Regions from separate parts of the Homo sapiens genome. Here region 1 is linked to region 2. The links are contacts of gene promoters, found by promoter capture Hi-C in human tissues and cell types (Jung and others, 2019). All regions are on one chromosome and are shown on one strand. The core of a region is centred on a gene start or on the middle of the fragment in contact, and the rest is flanking DNA. Distances in the headings are between cores, read along the strand shown. Region 1 overlaps FGF2 (fibroblast growth factor 2). Region 2 holds the start of FGF2 (fibroblast growth factor 2).

Region 1 (4,865 bases), core at 2,139-4,638, 49 kb after region 2:
AAAATTTTCAACCCAGAATTTCATATCCAGCCACACTAACCTTCAAAAGCGAAGGAGAAATAAAATCCTTTCCAGACAAGCAGATGCTGAGGGATTTTGTCACCACCAGGCCTGCCTTACCGGAGCTCCTGAAAGGAGCACTCAATATGGAAAGGAAAAACCGGTACCAGTCACTGCAAAAAACACACCAAAATATAAAGACCAATGACACTATGAAGAAACTGCATCAGCTAGTGTGCAAAATAACCAAATAGCAGCATGACGACAGAATCAAATTCACACATTTTGCTATTTTTCTAATTATCCTATCTGTCCTTTACCTTCTGTCTTTCCCTTTCTGCCTTCTTGGGTTAATTGAGTAGTTTTAAAATATTTCATTTTGCCCTTATAACTCAGCTGCCAAATGTTTGGGTTGGTGGGGAGCTAACCTTGCTCTTGAACTGTACTCCTGGCTTTCCACATCTTGGAAGATCTCTCTTTATCCTGCTGGTCATTGGCTTTGCATTTGGTGAAGGCTCAGTGCTTCTCAGAAGGATCACTTTCAGCCCTTTGACCTGCTCCCAGCCTTCAGTGGACTGCTGCCTTGCATTCTGCAAAGGCCCAGTGTACTTGAAGAGGATCTCTTAGCCCTTCTGTTCTGTTCCTAGCCTTTGGTGTGTGGTACTTGTGCACTGGGTGGAAGCTCTATGGGAAAGAACTGGCAGGTGGATATGGAGTTGCTCTTTGATCAGGGCTCTTCAGAATTCTAATTCCTCACATCAGCAGCTAATAAAAGTTTCTTAAAAATTCAGCTGGTTTCTTCGTGGTCCCATTTTTGGCAAGTTTATTCCTCCTTCTATCAGAGATGAAGCAGCTATGCATCTCTTTTTTGGGAAGAGGTCATCTGTATATCGAATTTATTTAGGAGATGAAGCAGCTATGCATCTCTATTTTGGGAAGAGATCATCTGTATATTGAATTTAGTTTATTTAGGTTTTTTATGCATCTCAGCTCAGATAGTTTTTATAGAAAATCTATGATTTTGTGACTTCCTCAACTTCTTGTTGTAGACTCTGGTTATTTTTAAAACTTGTAATTTAAAAATTATATGCCAATGGAAACACTCTTCAAGAATCTTACATGTAATGCTTATTGCTTAGTGGTTTAATGAATGACAACAATCCCTGAGTGTGGGAATAGTTGAGGTCTACAAAAGGTTAATGAGTAAATGAATTATGTTTACTTTGGGTATTGAGTCACTGGTACTGATCTGGCCATACACGAATATCCCTAATCACCCTCATGACTAGTAATACACATTTATAAGATGGTGGACCAGAGCTGGGCTAGCGTTGATTGATAAGGGACAGAAAGAAAGTATAGCGATTGATTATTCAGCCTTGCCTCATGGGCATTTGTACATCCTTATGAGTTAAAGTGAGATGCAAATGCATTCTTCATTAAAATGGCTTATCTGAATCATTTTAGAGCTGTATGCAATAATTTGCTTATACTCATTAAGATAAGTTTGGTTATGTTGATTAAAAACAAAGCTTATTTTCTGCATTTTCCAATAATATTGTAAAAAATACTTCATACCCTTCATTGTTTGGGTTTCATGTCTTCATTACATTCCTTTTACTTCGTATTATCTTTTAAGATTTTGTAGAAGAATTTCACTTGGGTAACTGTAGGCTTAAATGATGCAATGCTTTCTGGAATCCAGGGGTGACTGACACACAGAGGTGACTCAGACATGAAATGTTCAACAAAATTCTAAGATTGTCTTTTTTTTAAATTGTAAATTCTTAAACATTCATAAAAGTAGTGAGATTAGAATAATGAAATCCTGTGCTTCTAATGACTGTTAACACAAGTGAATCTTATTTATCCTATCCACTTTATTAAAAATTTAGTTATCTATTATTTAAAATAATATATTAGCTTATTTTAAAGCTAATCCCAGATATTATGTTTCATTTTGCATGTCTGTTGCTGTCTTGGTAGGAAAAATTTTAAAACATAAATTACTATGACATAATGATATCTAACAAAGTTAATTATTTAAGAAACTTTCAAAAGTTGCTTTTTCATGCCGTTTCCCTAGCTACCTATAAACACCTGGAAATTATATTTATTTTATATTTCTAATGTTATTCAAATGATAATATGCTGATTTCTAAAATTGCATTTTTTTCTGTTGCTCTCAAGAATATCCTAAACATATCCATAGGATGTGGGATGACCTATGAAAATAGTCTGGACAAACATTTATCTTGTTTATCTTATGATAAGCAGAGTTCTGAGAAGTTTGGTAATAAAGAGTTAACTTGGTTTAACTAAGATTTTCCTAAATTATTTGACACCAGAACCTATTTTTTATTTAACATCTGTTAGCAAAAATATATTTGGGGGAATATTGTTCTAGGCAGGAGAATGCTGCCTCTGAATAGCAAAATAATCTTTACTTCATTTTTATTTCAATTAATTAGGTAATTATTTGTCCATATTACATTATCATCATAATTAAGTAATTTTTTTTTGTTTTTCTGTAATCTGCTTAATATTGATAATGTGGTGTGACAAGTCATCTTTCTCAGGATCTTATTTTATGAAAATCTTTCATCACACTTATTTTATGAAAATCATTTGCTGTGTAAGCAAATTAAGTATAAGCATTTTGTGTTTCCACTAGATAGATATTTGCACACAAAAAAATAGACATCAAAATCCCATATAGAAAGCTAAATGCATCTATAGTTCATTGAAGAGGAAGCTAGAAATAAGATGTGTAGAAGTCAAAGAAATAGGGCCGGGCGCGGTGGCTCATGCCTGTAATCCCAGCACTTTGGGAGGCCAAGGCAGGTGGGTCACGAGGTCAGGAGATCGAGACCATCTGGCTAACATGGTGAAACCGCGTCTCTACTAAAAATACAAAAAATTAGCTGGGCGTGGTGGTGGGCATCTGTAGTCCCAGCTACTTGGGAGACTGAGGCAGGAGAATGGTGTGAACCTGGGAGGCAGAGGTTGCAGTGAGCCGTGATTGTGCCACTGCACTCCAGCCTGGGTGACAGAGAGAGACTCCGTCTCAAAAAGTCAAGGAAATACAGCTCAAATTATAACAGTGAATAACTAGATTTTGTTTCATTTGTGAAGAATTGGCAAATAACTTTTAAATAGTTTCAACATAGGCAGTAGCATGGGAATTCTCCTACACTTTTATGTACCCTTAAAATATGTTCACTTTAAAAAATGTAAATAGTTAACAGGGGCGATTGAAAGCTAACTGCCCAACAAAGGAAACAATTCTCCGTGTGTCCCCCTTCTCTGCTCACCCTGTGACACCTTCTCTGCTCACCCTGTGACACAGGAGCGACAAGGAACTCACAAGGCACTGGTGCCCTAGTAGTTCTGCATCTCATCCTCTCTCATACAGTTTAGTTGACATCTGCTCCCTGTCACTCACCCATACCCCCAACCTCACCAATCCTCCAAAGTGGATTAGTTGTTGCTTAGGTGTGTTTTGTCTTTATATTGCGTAAATATTGTGAAGAAGGCTCTTTCCTCTGTGGTGCTACAAAGATAATTTTTTTTCCCGTTACAGTCAAGCTACAACTTCAAGCAGAAGAGAGAGGAGTTGTGTCTATCAAAGGAGTGTGTGCTAACCGTTACCTGGCTATGAAGGAAGATGGAAGATTACTGGCTTCTGTAAGCATACTTTCTGTTTTCACACGTTTTTTGTTAGCTTTTATTGCTGTTAATTTACCAGCATTGTTGTTTATCAAATCTTTATAAAGGATTTTACGTGTATCATCGTCATAGTCACCCTGTAAAATAGGGAGTATTTTCTTTATTTCACAGATGCAAAAACTGATGTGCTGAGGGAGTAAGTAAAGTAAGAAAACACAGCTCATATAAAGTAGAGACTGGATTGGGCTGGAGGCATTCCTGACCTCTAAGTCACTGCTTTTACTCTGCAAAACTATTAAGCTATAATTTAAAAAAAATTTTCTTCTATTATGCAGTTGTTTGAAGATCATTGGGAATAAATGTATACAATTTTGATTATTAGTTTTTAAGTTTCTTCTTTAGAATGTGACGTACAAAACACTAGCAATGTAGAACACTAGTTGAGAATGTAAGCTTTCTGCCTGGTACAGATGCCGACTCTGCCACTTATGAGCTCTGTGTTCTTGGGCAAATGATTCTGAGTTAGTTCTCTTACCTGTAAAATAGAAACAATGATACTATCTCATTGGGATTTTATCAGAATTTAATTAGATACTACACATCAAGTGCCCAAATCAGCATCTGACACGTAATAGATCCTGAAAATTGTTACTTCTTCCTCACATTACTTCTCATTTACATATATGTCAGGAGAGGGACTTTTTTTTTTCTTTTTTTTTTTGAGATGGAGTCTCACTCCACTGCGCAGACTGGAGTGCAGTGGCGTAATCTCGGGTCACTGTACCCTCTGCCTTCTGGGTTCAAGCAATTCTCCTGCCTCAGCCTCCCGAGTAGCTGGGATTACAGGAATGCACCACCATGCCTGGTTAATTTTTTTGTATTTTTTAGTAGAGACAGGGTTTCGCCATGTTGGCTGGGCTGGTCCTGAACTTCTGACCTCAGGTGATCCGCCTGCCTTGGCCTCCCAAAGTGCTGGGATTATAGGCGTGAGCCACCGTGCCTGGCTGTAGAGAGGAACTTTTCTTTTTTACATGTTATCACAGCTTATCAGGGGTCCTAGTTCCTGGCTAGTATTCTTTCCACTAGTACAGGCTCCCTGTCAACTTCACCATTATTATTAGAAACGGGACTGCATATCTGTTGAACATATGATGTATAAAGAATGGTGCAGGAAAATAAATATAAAAGACAGATCT
Region 2 (4,914 bases), core at 987-3,486:
TCTCAACAGACGGATCTTCAATGAAGATGAAACAAATCCATTTTGGAGAGAGATGTTAGAGAACTGATGGCGTTCAGGACATGCTACCCAAAAATAATGGTACCTTGGCACTTAAGAAAAGAGCAGAAGCAAGAGGGTTACTTTCACTTTCCCCAGATCTTCTCTTCTGAGGCAGACCATAAGACCTTCATTCCAGAGGTGCCTTCCCTATACCTGGAGGAAACAGACATCCTTATCTCTGAAGACACACGGACAGGGAAAAGAATCTGAGCAAATAGGCCTTGCTAAGTAAGTCCCCCCAGTTTATTACCATTAGATCACAGATTTGTCCAATCATACTTCTCCATGACTTCCACTTCTTTATCAATCCTAGCCTTAAAAATACACAGGCTTCCCTCTTAACTTTGGGTCTTAATTTCTGAAGTCTCCTGTTTTGTGTAAAACTCACATAAATAAGTTAGTATGTTTTTCTCTTGTTAATGTGTCTTTTGTTACAGGGGCTTCAGCCATAAACCTAGTAATGAATGGGGAAATTTTTTTTTTCCTCCTCTATAGAACATATACCAACTGCAAGAAGAAAGAAGAATATGCCTGGTTTTGGGCCTGGCGCGGTGGCTCACGCCTGTAATCCCAGTACTATGGGAGGCTGAGGCGGGCAGATCACCTGAGGTTGGGAGTTCGAGACCAGCCTGACCAACATGGAGAAACCCCGTCTCTACTAAAAATACAAAAAATTAGCCCTGCGTGGTGGTGGCGCATGCCTGTAATCCCAGCTATTCGGTAGGCTGAAGTAGGAGAATCGCTTGAACCCAGGAGGTGGAGGTTGCGGTGAGCCGAGATCGTGCCATTGATCTCCAGCCTGGGCAACAAGAGCAAAACTCTGTCTAAAAAAAATAAATAAATAATAAAAATAAAAACAGTATGCCTGGTTTTAAAGCTTCAAAGAATTTACTCATTCTCCTGTATGTAACATTCTAGAAATGCATCTGGAGTTAAAGCCTTCTTGGAGACTTAAGAACAAATGCACTTATGCATGGCCTTTTGAAACCTAATGTTTCTACAAGGAGGCACGTCCATACTTGCAACTCCTTCTAGAAGCTTCCCCAAATCTCCTGCCTCCCCACGCTGAGTTATCCGATGTCTGAAATGTCACAGCACTTAGTCTTACTCTTCTATGGCCTACTTTCTACTGCTATTTGTGTTACTCATGCTACCCATCTTATCTCCCTCAGTGTGTGAGACGCTGGCATCAGATTTGGCATCTCCCACACACTCAACATTATGTGTTGCACACAGTAGGTACTCAATACATGCAAGTTTTCTGAATAGATATTTTCCTAGTCATCTGTGGCACCTGCTATATCCTACTGAAAATTACCAAAATGCAATTAACTTCAATTTTACATTTGGGATTTACAGAAAATAACTCTCTCTCCAAGAAATGCATAACAATTTAGCTAGGGCAAATGCCAGGTCCGAGTTAAGACATTAATGCGCTTCGATCGCGATAAGGATTTATCCTTATCCCCATCCTCATCTTTCTGCGTCGTCTAATTCAAGATAGGTCAGTAAAGGAAACCTTTTCGTTTTAGCAACCCAATCTGCTCCCCTTCTCTGGCCTCTTTCTCTCCTTTTGTTGGTAGACGACTTCAGCCTCTGTCCTTTAATTTTAAAGTTTATGCCCCACTTGTACCCCTCGTCTTTTGGTGATTTAGAGATTTTCAAAGCCTGCTCTGACACAGACTCTTCCTTGGATTGCAACTTCTCTACTTTGGGGTGGAAACGGCTTCTCCGTTTTGAAACGCTAGCGGGGAAAAAATGGGGGAGAAAGTTGAGTTTAAACTTTTAAAAGTTGAGTCACGGCTGGTTGCGCAGCAAAAGCCCCGCAGTGTGGAGAAAGCCTAAACGTGGTTTGGGTGGTGCGGGGGTTGGGCGGGGGTGACTTTTGGGGGATAAGGGGCGGTGGAGCCCAGGGAATGCCAAAGCCCTGCCGCGGCCTCCGACGCGCGCCCCCCGCCCCTCGCCTCTCCCCCGCCCCCGACTGAGGCCGGGCTCCCCGCCGGACTGATGTCGCGCGCTTGCGTGTTGTGGCCGAACCGCCGAACTCAGAGGCCGGCCCCAGAAAACCCGAGCGAGTAGGGGGCGGCGCGCAGGAGGGAGGAGAACTGGGGGCGCGGGAGGCTGGTGGGTGTGGGGGGTGGAGATGTAGAAGATGTGACGCCGCGGCCCGGCGGGTGCCAGATTAGCGGACGCGGTGCCCGCGGTTGCAACGGGATCCCGGGCGCTGCAGCTTGGGAGGCGGCTCTCCCCAGGCGGCGTCCGCGGAGACACCCATCCGTGAACCCCAGGTCCCGGGCCGCCGGCTCGCCGCGCACCAGGGGCCGGCGGACAGAAGAGCGGCCGAGCGGCTCGAGGCTGGGGGACCGCGGGCGCGGCCGCGCGCTGCCGGGCGGGAGGCTGGGGGGCCGGGGCCGGGGCCGTGCCCCGGAGCGGGTCGGAGGCCGGGGCCGGGGCCGGGGGACGGCGGCTCCCCGCGCGGCTCCAGCGGCTCGGGGATCCCGGCCGGGCCCCGCAGGGACCATGGCAGCCGGGAGCATCACCACGCTGCCCGCCTTGCCCGAGGATGGCGGCAGCGGCGCCTTCCCGCCCGGCCACTTCAAGGACCCCAAGCGGCTGTACTGCAAAAACGGGGGCTTCTTCCTGCGCATCCACCCCGACGGCCGAGTTGACGGGGTCCGGGAGAAGAGCGACCCTCACAGTGAGTGCCGACCCGCTCTCTCCGCCTCATTTCCATTTCGTGGGTTCTCGCCCGCTCTCTCCCCTCCAGCCTGCACCCTCCTCCCGGATCTTCACTGCGACCCTAGCGCTCCGTGTGGTTTCTGGCCGCGCGGCCCTCGGCGGTTTCGGGTTCACCACTCACCCCCTCCTTTCCGGGCTGCGGCGTAGGCCCGGGTGTCCCCTGGGCTTTGGGGTGTGCCAATTTGCCCTGTAAACCAGTACCCCCGGCCCGGAGCCGCGGCGCGCCGGGGCCTCGCGGACTGGCTGTCTTCCCGCGGACAACCTGTCGCGTCGGGGATGCCCGCGGCCCCGCCATGCAGCTCTGGCCGCTTCTATCTGCTGCGTGCTGTCCCGGGGACAAAGACAGGAAGGACCGCAGCAGAACGAAACGGTCTTTACTGGAAAAACACCTTTCTAGAGTCCTGCCCTTAAATTCCGACTCGGGACGACCCGAGGCATATGGCACACTACTCTCACCCACTCTGTTTTATATTTTTCCGAATTGACGAAAGCTGAAAGAGCAAAAACAAAAACCAACCAGCCAACCAGCAAAAAATCCAGATGTTGTTAATAAAGTGCCATAGCTTTGTTTCAGTAGTGAAAAGAAGTGCAAACACTTTAATCTTCCACCTGCAGTGACTAGCTTTGAGACCTTGAGCCGACGCTTAACCCCAGAGCCGGTTTCCTCATCGCTCACGTGGGGCTAATATATTACTACCTTGCAGCAGGCTTGAGGATGAAATGAGAATTGCAGTTTTGCTTTCTGTAAGAAACAATGTTTGTGGTTCTAGAAAGAACACTGGCCTAAATAAGGAGTGCTTGGACTTTAGGGGATTCCCTAAGTCTGGAGTGGGGGCTGAAGATTTGCATTTCTAACATGTTCCCCGGGGATGCTGATCACATCACACTTTGAGAGCCACTGGTCTAGAGGAAAGAGAAAGAAAGGGGCATAAGATGAGCCGATTTACAACACTGATGGAATTTGAAGTGAGAGAAAGAGGACTAGAATATATTGTAACCTGTCCTCCTGTAAGTGTATGTAAACATGTGTTTTAAAAGCTGTGTGTTATGGCGTTCCTTCCTTTATGGGTTCCAGGTGGAGAATCTGATTCTCTCATTGCCTGAGAAAAGACCCACAGGGGTCCCAGCGCCACTCCCCTGTAGTTCTGCCTTTGTCTTGGGATGCTAATGGGATGTCATGAGGGGAGGTGGAGGGGGGCTGGAAGAGAAGAAAATTCTACAACCAAACGTGAATTGGCAGAAGAATGGGCAATACACTTTCATATGAGCTGAGTCTTTATTGCTTCCAAAATAGCAACCTGCAAGAGAGGCAAGTATTTAATTTTTTTCAGGCTTGCCATAATTTAAAAATTTTATCAATCACTTAATCCCGTAAAACTGAAAAGATGCTTGTAACCTATTAGATGGGTTAGTGCTAGTTCTCTATTCTGGTAACTTGAACTCATCTATTTCAAAAAATTATCTTTGTGATTGAAGTTTGTTCTGCAGTTGTCTGCTACGCCATCTCAGCTGACAAGGGCAAGGTGCTGTGTGTCCCAATTGGTTTTGTTCTTTCTAGTATCACAAATTATTTATTAAAAAGCATGTATTATGACCAGAAGACAGAAGAATTTCCCTTTAAATTAAATTAATATTTGGGGCTTCCCCTAATACTCTTTTTTTTTCAGACTCTATTAGTTGCTGAATCATTTTTTCTTTGAAGATTTTGATACCCGATTCGCCTTAGAATAAAACTATGTAGAGGTTAGCCAGTGGACATAATTTTGAATTGCATACCACATTACCACCGTTGTAAAAACAACCGTTAACTTTTTCTTCCTAACTGTGAGTTGGGTTTTCATTTTTGTAATCTTACTTTAACTCTGTGGTTCTCAAATGGGGACGATTTTGCCTCCCAGGGGACATTTGACAATGCCTGGAGACATTTTTGGTTGCTGTAACCTGGAAGGGTGCTACTGGCATCTGGCAGGTAGAGGCCGGGGATGCTGCTGAACATCCTACAATACACATTATAATACCCTCAACAAAAACATTTTTGACCCCAAATGTCACTAGTACTCAGGTTGAGAACTCTGCTAACTTTATAACTAGCTAAGGACAAGACATTAAAAGGGA

The links. Contacts are between HindIII fragments. The study calls those that stand out against the background at their distance.
Region 1: a fragment that was not itself captured here is called in contact with the fragment with the promoter of FGF2 in region 2 in 5 of the 25 tissues and cell types used here (IMR-90 fibroblasts, aorta, hippocampus and 2 more).

What each region holds. Positions count from the first base shown.
Region 1 is chr4:122,872,738-122,877,602 of GRCh38, forward strand. It overlaps FGF2 (fibroblast growth factor 2), which reads left to right. Exons shown (of 3, transcript NM_001361665.2): 2 at 3,584-3,687. Among named protein-coding and RNA genes, the nearest start is that of NUDT6, 47 kb to the right of the region's middle. The HindIII fragment of the contact is 7,042 bases long and covers 1-4,865 here.
Region 2 is chr4:122,824,595-122,829,508 of GRCh38, forward strand. FGF2 (fibroblast growth factor 2) reads left to right here and starts at 2,237. Exons shown (of 3, transcript NM_001361665.2): 1 at 2,237-2,758. The coding sequence starts at 2,581. RefSeq lists promoters at 1,096-2,278, 1,447-2,414, cis regulatory regions at 1,471-1,541, 1,542-1,580, silencers at 2,080-2,559, 2,900-3,194 and enhancers at 2,780-2,859, 3,142-3,667, 3,540-3,679, 3,668-4,193, 3,720-3,769. The HindIII fragment of the contact is 11,104 bases long and covers 83-4,914 here.